4 separate regions of the Homo sapiens genome follow, and regions 2, 3 and 4 are each linked to region 1. The links are contacts of gene promoters, found by promoter capture Hi-C in blood cells and fetal thymus (Javierre and others, 2016). All regions are on one chromosome and are shown on one strand. Each heading gives the region's core, a stretch centred on a gene start or on the middle of the fragment in contact. The rest is flanking DNA. Distances are from core to core; before and after follow the strand shown. Region 1 holds the start of MYO3B-AS1 (MYO3B antisense RNA 1). Region 2 has its middle 45 kb from the start of GAD1-AS1. Region 3 has its middle 47 kb from the start of GORASP2. Region 4 has its middle 37 kb from the start of BBS5.

Region 1 (3,159 bases), core at 463-2,962:
GCCCCTTCCTTCATGCTTTTATGTCAGCGTTGTGCCTTTTACAGAACTTTATAATAATGGGGAGAGAGGGAGCATGTCAAGCCATCCTGGAATTATTTGTTTCTACGTCTGTCTCCCCACTCAAACTGTAAATTCCTTGAGAGCAGAGAATGTATCTTTACTGCTTCATATCCCCAATACCTAGCACAGTTCCTAGAACATGGCAGGAACTCAGTAAATATCCATTCCTTTTGAAGAACCACGAATTCTTTAGAGGAAGTGATACTCTTAAAATTATGCACCTCATGGCCGGGTGTGGTGGCTCATGCCTATAATCTCAGCACTTTGGGAGGCCGAGGTGGGTGGATCACTTGAGGTCAGGAGTTTGAGACCAGCCTGGCCAACATGGTGAAACCCTGTCTTTACTAAAAATGCAAAAATTAGCCGGGCATGGTAGTGGGCACCTGTAATCCCAGCTACTTGGGAGGCTGAGGCAGGAGATCACTGGAATCTGGGAGGTGGATGTTGCAGTGAGCTGAGATTGCACCACTGCACTCCAGCCTGAGCGATGGAATGAGACCCTGTCTCAAAAAAAAAAAAAAAAGAAAGAAAGAAAAAAATTATGCACCTCATATAATGGACCTAGATAGAAGTTGGATGTTAGAACTCATGATCTTTGGACAGTCTCTCCAAACGACAAACATAATGATAAGGAAGAGAATAAGGGGTGGCAAAAGTGGTCAGATACACCTTCCTCTCTCAATATACACACAGTATCCCAGAACACAACTGAACATTTTTTTTTCCTTTGAGATAGTGTCTTGCTCTGTTGCCCAGGCTGGATTGCAGTGGCGCGATCTCGGCTCATTGCAATCTCAACCTCCCAGGGTGAAGCAATCCTCTTCCCTCAGCCTCCCAAGTAGCTGGGATTACAGGCACGTGCACACCCAGCTAATTTTCTGTATGTTTAGTAGAGACTGGGTTTTGCCATGTTGCCCAGGCTGATCTCCAACTTGTGGGCTCAAGTGATCTGCCCGCCTCGACCTCCCAAAAACCGAAATTTTAACTGTAAGAAGAAACATGATAGGATTGTTAAATTGATAGCTACGTGGTTAGCTGTGGATTCTTTTTTGATTGCCTTAAATACATGAAAAGAATGTCAGAATGAATCCTTCATGGCAATCTCAGTGGTTATTCCTCTCCAAAAGCTTCTGCCCATTCCTTTTCATCTCTGCCTTCCCTTATTTCTCACCACCAGCTCCTTTATCACGTGGTTTAGAATTCCACAGAAAGATTGAAGAGAAGCCACTTCTGAACTCTGGATTATAAGAAACATCACCATTTGAAGGCTGCCTTAGGGAACTATGCAGAGATGATGGGTAAAAATCGAGATGTGGAAAAGTTCAAGGCCTGTGAATGCAACTTTACTTCCTCACTGTAAAATAAAATTAGGTTAAAATCAAGGTGTTGGCAGGGGGAAAAAAGATTAGGGGCACGTCTCACAGATGTTAATTTTGGCCACGTACCTTAATGTCTTAATACATTAATATGATACATACATTAATAGCTTAATAGCTTCACACTAATAGATCTTACTAAAGAAAAATGATTTAGGATGGTAGTAAGCAGAAGAAATGATTGGATAAATTTGAATTTGAAGGATTTTTGCCTTTAGATGTTTCCGTGGAAGATATTTTCTGTAAAGGTGATGCCTTAGGTTTATACTTTTCCAAACACAGGATATTGCTAGGCCACATATATAAAGAAAAGGCCAAAAACATATTAAGAAGGAAGGAAGGGAGAAAAGAAAAAAGGGAGGAAGGAAGAAGGAAGGCAGGAAGGAAGGGAAGGCAGGGAGGGAGGAAGGCAGGAAGGAAGGAAGTTAGTTATATTCAGAATGTTCATTGTGATGGATGAGAATGGAATGCTCATGAAGTGCTCAGCTGGGCTGAAGTCACAGGTCCGCAGGTATCAAGAGCAGTGGTGACTCCTGTGAGTAAAAAGACTAACAGGGCTCCAAACAAGATAGGATTCAGAGTTGAGACTCCTACTTGAAGCCAGTAAATGAGGTGGTTCATTTAGGCTGATAAAAAGCGTCTGGGAAAAAGAATGGGGTAGGGGAGAGGTTATGTGATCCTGTGCTCTAACTGTAGCAATTTCTTCCACATATTCTCCATCGTCTGGGGTGATGCTGACCATCACCCAGGACTATGACTTTTAGCCACCTTCTGGCTGAGGATGGTAGAAGGATATATAAGCAGCCAGGCCTGTGGCTGCCACAGTCATAGGCTCTTCCATATGCCCAATAAGACCATGGGACAGCAGCACAAAATGCCATTCTACAACCTGGCTCTGGGCTAGAGACCCAGAGAGCCAAGCAGACATAACCATAACATTACTAGAATAGGAGGGTGGGCAAAGGGGAAGTGAGAGGGAGAGAGAAAACAAAATCCTCTTCCTCCTCACCCTTTCAGTGAGCCTGCCAACTGAAATTTCAGAACACCTGAATAAACCTAAAGCTGAGGAAGACAACCCACCAAAACAACAAATGAAGCATAAATTCGTTTGAAATGAAACTAAATTCATGGAATAGTCTGAAGGATTAATGTAGATAACTACTAACTGTAAGAAGGAAAACAATTTGGGATAAAATACGTAAAAACTAACTCTAATCATACAGTTGGGGCAGGGACAGCATCCAGTGTGTGATTTAGGCATGCACAAGTTGTTTTTCTTTGTTTGGTTTTTTGTTGTTGTTTTTGAGATGGAGTCTCGCTCCGTCGCCCAGGCTAGAGTGCAGTGGCATGATCTCGGCTCACTGCAACCTCCGCCTCCCAGGTTCAAGCGATCCTCTTGCCTCAGCCTCCTGAGTAGCTGGGGTTGCAGGTGCATGCCACAACACCTGGCTGATTTTTGTATTTTTAGTAGAGACGGGGTTTCACCGTGTTGGCCAGACTGGTCTCGAACTCCTGACCTCAGGTGACCCGCCCTCCTTGGTCTCCCAAAATGCTGAGATTACAGGTGTGAGCCACCGTGCCCGGCCTAGGCACGCATAGGTTTTTGTACTCAGAAAGGGGATAGAACTACAGGAAAATTGACAGTTAAGCAAACATGTTAAACTAATTTGTAGTTAAGCAAATATGTTAAAACTATAGAAAAACAATGTCTAGTTTCTAAACC
Region 2 (3,428 bases), core at 213-2,712, 510 kb after region 1:
TCCTAGGGAAATATATGTTGGTGCTGGATCATTAGGATATGGGACTGATTTTCTACAATATTCTTTGTGTGTGTGTGTGTGTGTGTGTATGTGTGTGTGTGTGTGTGAGAGAGAGAGAGAGAGAGAGAAAGAGTCTCAACTCTGTCACCAGGCTGGAGTGCAGTGGCGCCATCTCAGCTCACTGCAACCTCTGTCTCCCCGGTTCAAGCGATTCTCCTGCCTCAGTCTTCTGAGTAGCTGGGATTACAGGCGTGCACCACCACACCCAGCTAGTTTTTGTATTTTAGTAGAGCCACGGTTTCCCCATGTTGGCCAGGATGGTCTCAATCTCTTGACCTCGAGATCTGCCCACCTCGGCCTCCCAAAGTGCTGGGATTACAGGCGTGAGCCACTGCGCCCAGCCCATTTTCTACAATATTTTATTCAGCTATATTAATACAATCTCACTCATTTGGAATACAAGAAGCTCCCTATTTAGCACAGGTAGGGAATACAGAAGAGTCCTTTGTAATTAGCACACTGATTGCATGTAACCATTGTATTAAACGACTCTATAGGGAGTGATCATAAAGCCACTTATTCTTTCTCTCACTGTTTCTATAAAACGCCCCTGGGGGCTGATTTTTTCCATGCCCCCATTTGAATTTAGGCCAATCCCATAGCTTTTCTGTCCTCTCGGGTGCATGAACAGTCTCATTTTTGCAACTGAGGGTCCAGGTTGATGTAATAAGCAAAGTTTCAATTTTTATATGATATAGAGTTTCTCCCCCCTCCCCCCGATCTGGCACTGCTTCAGCTGCAAGCCTACAGTGGCAGGGAGAGCAAGGCTGACGGTGGGTGAGGTCACCTTTTTTCTTCATCTTTCAGCTCATCTCCCTAGCTCCTGTGCTTCCTCATTCAGGGTCAGGCCTAGCGGGAGGAAGGGATAACGTGACAAAGGTAAAATTTTACATGGCTATTAAATTGTCATTGGGCATCAAGTTCCCTGGAACATGAGTTTTTGTTTTTTGGGGGGGTTTTTTGTTTTTTTTTTTGAGAAATTTTCTGGAGTGAATGAGGATTTTTGGAATTAAGGTAAAATTTAGATACAATGAAACTTTTTGTAGTGTACTGTGTATAGTTTTCTGTGGATTTTGACAAACCCATTCAGTCATGTATTAATAACTATCATCATGATCAAGGTCTACAACAGGTCTGTCACCCCAACGAATTTCCCATCCCCCTTTGTACTGAACACCTCTCCTACTCAGCTCTTGGCAACCTCTGCTTTGTTTTCTGTCCCTAGACTTTTGCCTTTCCCACCATGTAAATGGAATCATATAAGATTTAGTCTTTTTTTAGTCTGGTTTCTTTTGCTTAACGTAGTGCACTTGAAATCCATCCATGTTATCTCTATATCAGTGTTCATTCCTTTTCACTACCGCATAGTATTCCATTTGCATAAATGTACCATACTCTGCTTATCCATCCCTTAGTAGAGGGGAATTTCTGTTGTTTCCAGTTTTTTTGGCGATTAGAATAAAGCTACTGGAAACAATAGTGTGCAGATTTTTCTGTGAACATAGATTTCATTTAACTTGGGTAAATACCTACGTGTAGGATTGCAAGATAACATTAATAATATGTTTAATTTTATCAGAAACTGCTAAACTATTTTCCAAAGTGGCTGTACCATTTTGCATTCTCACCAGCAATGCACAAATATTCCAGTTGCTCCATATTCTTGCTGACACTTGGTACTGTCATTTTCCCCCCATGCTGGCCATTCTAAAAGTGTTATCTTGTGGTTCTAATTTGCTTTTTCGTGAAGCACTTTTGAAGGATCCCTCTGGGGTCCTCCCAGCTCATTGCACAGGAGGCAGTAAAGGTTTATCCTCCTGCAACCACTTAGGACTCAGACCCTCAGGCCTGGGCCCCTGGCAGTCTACACTGTCCAGACCTTGTAGTTGGGATCCTTTCTTCTCCAAGTAGTACATTTGGCCAGGATGCCTTTTATTTAACATCAGTTACTGGCCAGGTGCAGTGGCTCACGTCTGTGATCCCAGCACTTTGGAAGGCCAAACTGGAAGGACTGCCTTGAGCCCAGGAGTTCAAGGCCAGCCTGGGTACATTGGGAGATCCCATCTCTACAAAAAATAAAAAAATAGCTGGGAGTGTGGTGGTGAGCCCCTGTGATGCCAGCTACTCAGAAGGCTGAGGTGGGAAGATCACTGGAGCCCAAGAGGTCAAGGCTGCAGTGAGCCATGATCATGCCACTGCATTCCAGCCTGAGCAACAGAGTGAGACACCATCTCAAAAAAAAAAAAACAGAAACAAAAACAAAACCCTCCTTAGATAATCTACAATAACTGATTTTTTTTTTTTTTTTTTTTTTGAGACAGGATCCCGCTTTGTCACCCAGGCTAGAGTATTGTGGCATGATCACAGCTCACTGCAACCTCGAACTCCTGGGCTTAAGCAATCCTCCCACCTCAGCCTCCCAAGTAACTGGGACTGCAGGTGCATGCCATCATGCCCAGCTAATTTTTTATTTTTTTGTAGAGATGGAGTCTCATTCTGTTGCCCAGACTAGTCTCAAACTCCTGAACTCAACTGATCCTTTCACCTCGGCCTCCCAAACTGCTAGAATTACAGGCATAAGCCACTGTGCCTGACCAAGAAGGGCTTTATTAGACATACATGTATAGGACAAAGGGTGATGACATTATACTTGAGTACCCATTACTTAGCCTAAGATATAGAACATTATTATTATCATGACCTTAGCACTCTCCAACCCCGTCACGAACCTTCCCTGATTGGATGCTCCCCACTCTCTAAGAAGTGATCACTATTCTGAATTTTGTGTTACTCACTCTCTTATTTTTCTATATAGTTTTACCACATACTCATGCATCCTTATTGTTTAGTCTTACCTGATTTTGTACTTTATGTAAACAGAATAATACAGAATTTTTATACTTCTGTGACTTTTCTAGTCAACATTATGATTTTGTTTGTCCAGAGCTAACCTCTAGGGAGACTTCGTGCAGTTTAAAATAAAAAAGGTACCCCTGTCTTGATAGCTAAGCATCCCTGTGCCAGTGGAGCTGGAATAGACTTCAGCGCCTACTCAACCTATTGGCACACCCTGCAAACACGGTCTCATGTAGAAGCCTCATGGTTTTGAGAGTCACCTTTGACAATGGCTGCAGCTGTAATTCATTCATTTTTATGGCTGCAATGCTATTACAGTGTATGAATATACTTCAGAAGGTTTATCCATTCTATTGGGGGTGAATATATGAGTTTTTCCAGTTTTGCCTTTAGAGATAACATTGCTATGAGCATTCTAGTACCTGTTTTCTGGGGTACATGTACAAAAGTTTTTCTAAGGTTTATACCTGGAAGTGAAATTGCTGGGTCACAATGTATTTATGGAACTTTAC
Region 3 (3,430 bases), core at 199-2,698, 530 kb after region 1:
CCTGGGCTCAGCTCCTACATGAGCTACTTTTGATCAAACTGTAGTCTGTGGGTTTGATACTGGATGATCCTAAAGTTGGACAATAACAAAAAATCTGCAAACTAAAACTGGGATCCGAGAGTTTTCTTAGCTCAGCATGGAAAAAAATCCTAATATTCTTAATTAACGTTTGTTAATGTCTTTGATAACCCCTTGCCCTGGAAAACAATACTATATCAAAGTCTCTTGTTTCTTTCATGGCTTTCATCATTAAATTGGAAAAGCTGGAAAACAACAAATGTTTGTATTTTTGGAGTTCAATTTTACTTTGCTCCCTGCTAGCACCTTAAAACAGATGGTATCCATTCAGATGGAAATGAGGTATAAAAGTGATTTTTATTAAAATTAACATTCAATTTAGATTTTGCTTTATTATGCATACCACAAATAACTGTGTGAGTTCCCTGTAAAGAGGTTGTATATATGACATAATTTATAGTTATTCATGCTCTATCAATTACATTGAAATGATGACTGGAGTTACCACAGTACCTCAATAATCATTACTATGTAATTTGCAGTTTTCTGGATTAGGGAACTCTTTAGAAGCTGCACGTAACTAGCCAATTGTTTTTAGAGAGTACAGTAATGACTGTTATTACTGAGGAGTTGAATGAAGCTCCTTTTTATGCCCTGAAGATTACTTGATGATATCATTTTTTTTAAAAAAAAGTAACCAACAGATAAACAGACAGCAAACCAAGTATATAATGGTCCAATAATGTGGGCCAACACTGTTGGCTGTGAAAATTACCACAATCTTCCATTGATTTTTATTTCTCTAGTGGGAACACCTGCCTATGCAAGCATACTTAATTAGATGGATTGCCTTGGCCCGTGAATGGTATTAGAACAGGTGAAAATAAAGGGAAGATTTCTGAGATTTTGTTTAGTATATAAAAGTGCAATAGGCTGCAAACACGACTCAAACTAAGTCAGGCTCACCTTATTCAAAACAAATCTAACTCTATCCTCTCTTCCAGACTTCTTGAATATAGTGCCCAAACCCACTTCCACTTCCCTTCAGTAACCTGACCCTGAACTAGAATTTATTACTACAGCTCGCTTCTCAGAAAATCTTTATTTTCTATAGATAGAGCCCATTAAAATCTTTCTTACATTTAAGTACTTGAAAGCAATATTTCCCCTCTTTATTTTTCCCTTTTAAGCTAAGCCATAGTAAACTGTCTTCAGACATTTTTTGGTGCACAAAAATATTTTTTTCCTCCAGAACAGACCCCAAGCTGAAGTGTTAGGCATTCGCCATTTGCTTTCCATCCCAGTAACCTCCTTTCTTTTTCCCCACGTCCCTCTTCCTACAGTCACCTTTAGATGTGCAGTCCATGTCTGAGCAAAGCCTGCTTTTATGACAGTGCCTCATGCCCGCCCATGTGTTACCTTTCCCAGTGATCCCTGCTCTGTAAAATTACCACTAGGCAGTGAATAAGATTTTCATCCCATCTTAAAGCACCTCAGCCAGTGGGTGGGGGAAGGCATTTGGGGAGGGCCAAGTAGCTTCTGAAATCTGTGTCCCAGGCTGTACCTTGTCAAGTTATCTTCCTTAACTATGGGTATGGCTGGTGAAACTGCCCATCATCTAGATTTCCCTGCTAGAAAAACGGACGTCCCTGTCTGAAAACAACCACAATGACAGCAATGGGACTTAGTCTTTGATGCCCTCATTTTCTGCAGCAGTGACTCCAAAATAAAAGCTCCTGCCTTTCACTGGTAAGTTCCCCTAGAAACCACTGTAATATGTTTATTAAGATCTTTGTGTAAGCTCTGTCTCACTACTAGTATTGGGCTCCAGTTTCTAATTTTAGTAAGATTTACACTAGCCAGCTCAGCGAAATAGCCCTCTTATATTTTTGTTCAATGGATCAACTCCAGCTGTTTTATAACTAAACCATTTTATTTAGTAGTCTCCAAAAGCACCCCATAAAATGCTTCATGAGTGCTTTCTTGGGCCCATTTTAATGAGCAAGACCTACTACATTTTGGAAATTCCCATACTCAGAATCTCTTTTACTTCTAGAAAACTCCAACTGATGGCAATACAACCTACAGAAAATCTATCACCAGCCGGGTATGGTGGCTCACACCTGTAATCTCAGCACTTTGGGGGCTCAAAGTGGGAGGATTGCTTGAAGCCAAGAGTTCAAGATCAGCCTGGGCAACACAGTGAGACCCCATTTCTACAAAAAAGAAATTAGCTGGGTGTGGTGGTATGCGCCGAGTAGCTGAGTCCCAGCTACTTGAGAAGCTGAGGCAGGAAGATTGCTTGAGCCCAGGAGGTTGAGGCTACAGTGGACCATGATTGTTCCACTGCACTCCAGATGACAGAGCAAGACCCTGTCAAAGAAAGGAAGAAAGAAAAGAAAAGAAAGAGAAGAAAGGAAAGAAAGAAGGAACGGAGGAAGGAAGGAAAGAAGGAAGGAAGGAAAGGGAAGGGAAGGGGAAGGAAAGGGAAGGGAAGGGGAAGGGGAAGGAAAGGGAAGGGAAAGGGAAGGGAAGGGGAAGGGAAGGGAAGGGAAGGGGAAGGGAAGGGAAGGGGAAGGGAGGTGAAGGGAGGGGAGGGGAAGGAGGAAGGGAGAAAGGGAGCAAGGAAGGAAGGAAGGAAGGAAGAAGAGAAAGAGAAAAGGAAAGAAAGAAAATCTGTTGCCTATGTGGGATGAAATGACAAAGTGACAAGACTGACAGAAAGGCTGAAGTAGACACATTTGGGTGCTGCTCAGTTCTCCCTCCTCAGGAAACTTCCCTCCTTACCCAGTTCCACAGAGGAGGGCCATCGGCAGCTATGTTTATACTACACATCTCCACTGCCCTGGCCACAGCCAACTGGACCTGAGGGGACCATCTAATCAAAGTTGGGCCAATCCAATTCTTTGTCCCAGGAATTTGGAATTGGGACTGAGAACTCAGTTGGCCTGTATATGTTTTGCAAGCTTAGGAGCAAGGGATGGGGGTGAGGGCTGGATGTCACATGCTGCCAGGTGGGCAGGAGAAGCAAGAAAGCCAATCTGAAGAGAAAGGAGAATGAAGGCAACAGATAGAGAGCACAAGAGATCAACAGTGCAGCACTGGTTTTTTGGTTTTTTTTTTTTTTTTTTGGCCTTTATTTATTTATTTATTTCCATAGGTTTTGGGGGAACAGGGGTGTTTGGTTACATGAGTGAGTTCTTTAGTGGTGATTTGTGAGATTTTGGTGCACCCATCACCTGAGCAGTGTACACTGAGCCAAATTTGTAGCCTTTTATCCCTCTACCCCTTCTGATTCTTTCCCCCACCGAGGCCCCACAGTCCATTGTATCACTCTTATGTCTTTAAGGTGCAGTGTTCTGACCATATCCCAGTCCCTGGGTCCAGCCCTTGCTGAAGCTCAGCTTCACTT
Region 4 (3,461 bases), core at 922-3,421, 910 kb before region 1:
ATATCTCTAGGGCATGGAGTAGGCACTTAATAAAATCTGATGACTAGGCTGGGCACGGTGGCTCATGCCTGTAATCCCAGCACTTTGGGAGGCCAAGGTGGGCAGACCGCTTGAGCCCAGAAGTTCAAGACCAGCCTGGCCAACATGGTGAAACCCCATCTCTACTTAATAAAAAAAAAATTAGCCAAGCGTGATGGCACACTCCTATAATACCAGCTATTCAGGAGGCTGAGGCATGAGAATCACTTGAACCCAGGAGGCAGAGGTTGCATTAAGCCAAGATCACACCACTGTACTCCAGCCAGGGCAACAAAGTGAGTGAGACTCTGTCTCAAAATTAATTAATTAATTAATCAATTTTAAATGTGATGAATAAATGAATAGACCTATAGATCTTTTACAACATTCGTATAAGATTTTCTTAGTCTTAACATTTTAATTGATGACTTGATTGAAGCTATATTTTTAAAAAACGAGATTGCCAGTTATTGCAATTGCACACATACTGAGACAATGTGCTTATGGATAGATAAAAATACAATGAATAAAAGGGACATAGGTCAATACCAATAAAACAAAATTTAATATCACTAAATGTATATTCAAAAATGCACAAAGAATAGGAGGGCTCCCAGCTTGAAATAGCTTACTTTTTAAAAGCTATGACAGTCACCAATACCATCAGCCCCCTGAGCCATCCAGCTATAAAACCTAGATACAGTGCATGGAGCATCTATTTAGGAACACTGCAAAATAAATGATAGCAAGAAGATTTGGAAAGGACACCAGAATTCAAAGCACCACCAAGCCAGTACTGAGTTTTCCCTTTTTTTCCCTCCTGGCCAGGACTCAGGGAAGTCTGAAACTCTGAAGTGGGCACCCAGATGTAGACAGAGAGTGCTTCAAGAAAAGCCCTCTAGTTTTGGGTCCAGGAGTGGGAAAGGAGAATTCTAACACTCATCGAGATGGGGGCAATTCATCATTTTCCTTTGTTCATTTTTCTGTCATGCCCCAGAAGCCAGACGATCCCATGACAACAGTTGCAGCAAAGACAGTGGTGGCAGCAGAGGCTGCAGGTCCCTAAAACTCTGAAGTACAGAATGTTCCTCTCTGATCAGAGGAGCTGTGGTCCCCCAAAGTGGGGCAAATCCCTGTTGGTTTTTTCTCTCTCTAGCCTCCTACTATTTGACTCTGAATACACACAGACTGGGCTAACTTAAAACTCAGTTTTTTGGGCTGGAGAACTAAAAAGATGAAGGAAACTGAAAATTCTGAGGAGAACGTAGAGAGGGAGGAGCTAGGAAGTGTGACCCAATAAAGTCGTTTCTAGGCTCTGGAGCTTATTCCTGAGTGGTGTGTGCATGAATCTGACCCTTAACAGCATATCATAGACTTTGAGAACTGAAAGGTGGGACAGACTGCAGCCCAGCTCCCAGACTGTACATTGGGTGGCACATACAAGGGACAGAAACAAGGAGCATTGCATAGGCTTTAAAAACTGAACTAACGTTGGAACCACACCCAGAGCGGATTGATCAGAAATCACAGCCTGTACGTAACTGTTTATGTTCTCAAAGGTTATGGGGCCAGGCTCTGTGGCTCATGCCTGTAATCCCAGCACTTTGGGAGGCCGAGGCCGGCGAATCATGAGGTCAAGAGATCGAGACCATCCTGGCCAACAAGGTGAAACCCCGTCTCTATTAAAAATACAAAAATTAGCTGGGCATGGTGGTGCATGCCTATAATCTCAGCTACTCGGGTGGCTGAGGCAGGAGAATCGCTTGACCCCAGGAGGCAGAGGTTGCAGTGAGCTGAGATCACGCCACTGCACTCTAGTCTGGCGACAGAGCAAGACTCCATCTCAAAAAAAAAAAAAAAAAAAAGGTTATGGTATGCTGTTGATTCTATTGATTCTTGGGGGATGAAGATTGAAGCTCCCAGTTTTAACTGTAAATTTGTCTATTGCTTTTTCAGGTTTCGTAAGTTTTTGCTTTATGTATTTTCAAGCTTTGTTGTTAGGTGTGTACACATTCAGAATTGTTATGTGTTCTTGGTGAATGGACCCCTTTTTCTTTATGTAATGCCCTCCCTCTCTGTCAGAATGCATGTAGGGCAACATAGTGAGACCTTCTCTCTTAATCAATAAATAAATTTTTAAAAAATACATGGGTGGAAAAAATGATAGCCTTAATTAAAAAAAAAAAACTTTAAAGCTAGAGTGACTATTTAATAGCAGAGAAGAATTCAGAGCAAAGACAATTACCAGGGATAAAAAGGGACATTGTCCATTAACCAAGAATATATAACCATCCTAAGTGATAATATACCTAGCAACAAAGCTTTAAAATACATGAAGCAAAAACTAACAAAACTGGAAGGAAAAATGGACAAACCCACAATTATAGTTGAAAATTTCAACTCTCCTCTTTCAGTAATCGTTAGAACAAGTAGACAGAAAATCAGCAAGGACACAGAACTGAACAATGCTATTAAAGAACTGTATCTAATCAACATTAATAGAATATTTTACCCCATAACAACATGATAGTCTTTATATAGGCACACAGAATATTCATCAAGATAGAGCATATACTAGGTCATAAAATAAACCTTATCAAAAGTAAAAGAGTTGAAATCACACAAAGTTCTTTGGCCATAAGAAAATTAAACTAAAAATCAATAATACCAAAAAAAGTTTTAAACACTTTTAAATTAAACAGTAGATCTTTAAACAACCCACAGATCAAAGAGGAAGCCTCAGGAGAAATTAGAAAATACTTTGAATTAAATGAAACATAAAATAAAATGTAAAAATTTGTGGTGTACAGGTAAAGCAGTGTTTAAAGGTGAAATTATACCCATTATGTGCTCATATTAAGAAGAAGAATGATCTCAGATCCACTAGCTAAGATTCTATTTTTAAAAACTAGAAAAAGAAGAGCAACATATGTTCAAAGCATGCAAAAGGAAGAAAATAATAAAGGTAAAAGCAGAAATCAATGAAATTAAAACTAACCAAACCAAAAAAGGGCAACTGGAAGAAAGAAGACTAGACAAAATAAAACCAAAAGCTAGTACTTTGAAAAGATCAATAAAATTTAAAATTCTCTATCAAGATCAACAAAGAAAAAAGGAGAAAAGACACACATTATCAATATCAGGAAAGAAAGATGGGATCACTATAGACCCCACAGATGTTTAAGGTATAAGGGAATGCTACCATTCTAAGCACATAAATGGAACAACAAAGATGAAATGAACCAGTTCCTTAAAACCTCAAAATACCAAAATGCAACCAAGATGAAATAGACAATCTGAATTTTTCTGTAACTATTAAAGAAATGGAACATGTCGTTGAAAACCTTCTAAAAAGAAACTTCTAGCTCACGCCTGTAATCCCAGCACTTTGGGAGGCCAAGGTGGGCAGATCACGAGGTCAGGAGATCAAGACCATCCTGGCT

The links. The method cuts DNA at HindIII sites, captures the fragments that hold promoters and counts their contacts. A CHiCAGO score of 5 or more calls a contact.
Region 2: a fragment that was not itself captured here is called in contact with the fragment with the promoter of MYO3B-AS1 in region 1 in 14 of 17 cell types (M1 macrophages, M2 macrophages, fetal thymus and 11 more); the score reaches 13.2 in M1 macrophages.
Region 3: a contact is called between a fragment that was not itself captured here and the fragment with the promoter of MYO3B-AS1 in region 1, in 5 of 17 cell types (M2 macrophages, naive CD4 T cells, M0 macrophages and 2 more). The highest score is 8.8, in M2 macrophages.
Region 4: a contact is called between a fragment that was not itself captured here and the fragment with the promoter of MYO3B-AS1 in region 1, in 1 of 17 cell types (endothelial precursors). The highest score is 7.2, in endothelial precursors.

What each region holds. Positions count from the first base shown.
Region 1 is chr2:170,349,231-170,352,389 of GRCh38, forward strand. It overlaps MYO3B-AS1 (MYO3B antisense RNA 1), which reads right to left and starts at 1,713. Exons shown (of 4, transcript NR_110576.1): 1 at 1,649-1,713. The region is part of intron 8 of MYO3B (myosin IIIB); the gene reads left to right. The HindIII fragment of the contact is 2,320 bases long and covers 1,186-3,159 here.
Region 2 is chr2:170,861,867-170,865,294 of GRCh38, forward strand. No RefSeq gene overlaps it. Among named protein-coding and RNA genes, the nearest start is that of GAD1-AS1, 45 kb to the left of the region's middle. The HindIII fragment of the contact is 6,602 bases long and covers 1-3,428 here.
Region 3 is chr2:170,880,312-170,883,741 of GRCh38, forward strand. No RefSeq gene overlaps it. Among named protein-coding and RNA genes, the nearest start is that of GORASP2, 47 kb to the right of the region's middle. The HindIII fragment of the contact is 3,068 bases long and covers 1-2,982 here.
Region 4 is chr2:169,440,355-169,443,815 of GRCh38, forward strand. No RefSeq gene overlaps it. Among named protein-coding and RNA genes, the nearest start is that of BBS5, 37 kb to the right of the region's middle. The HindIII fragment of the contact is 332 bases long and covers 2,006-2,337 here.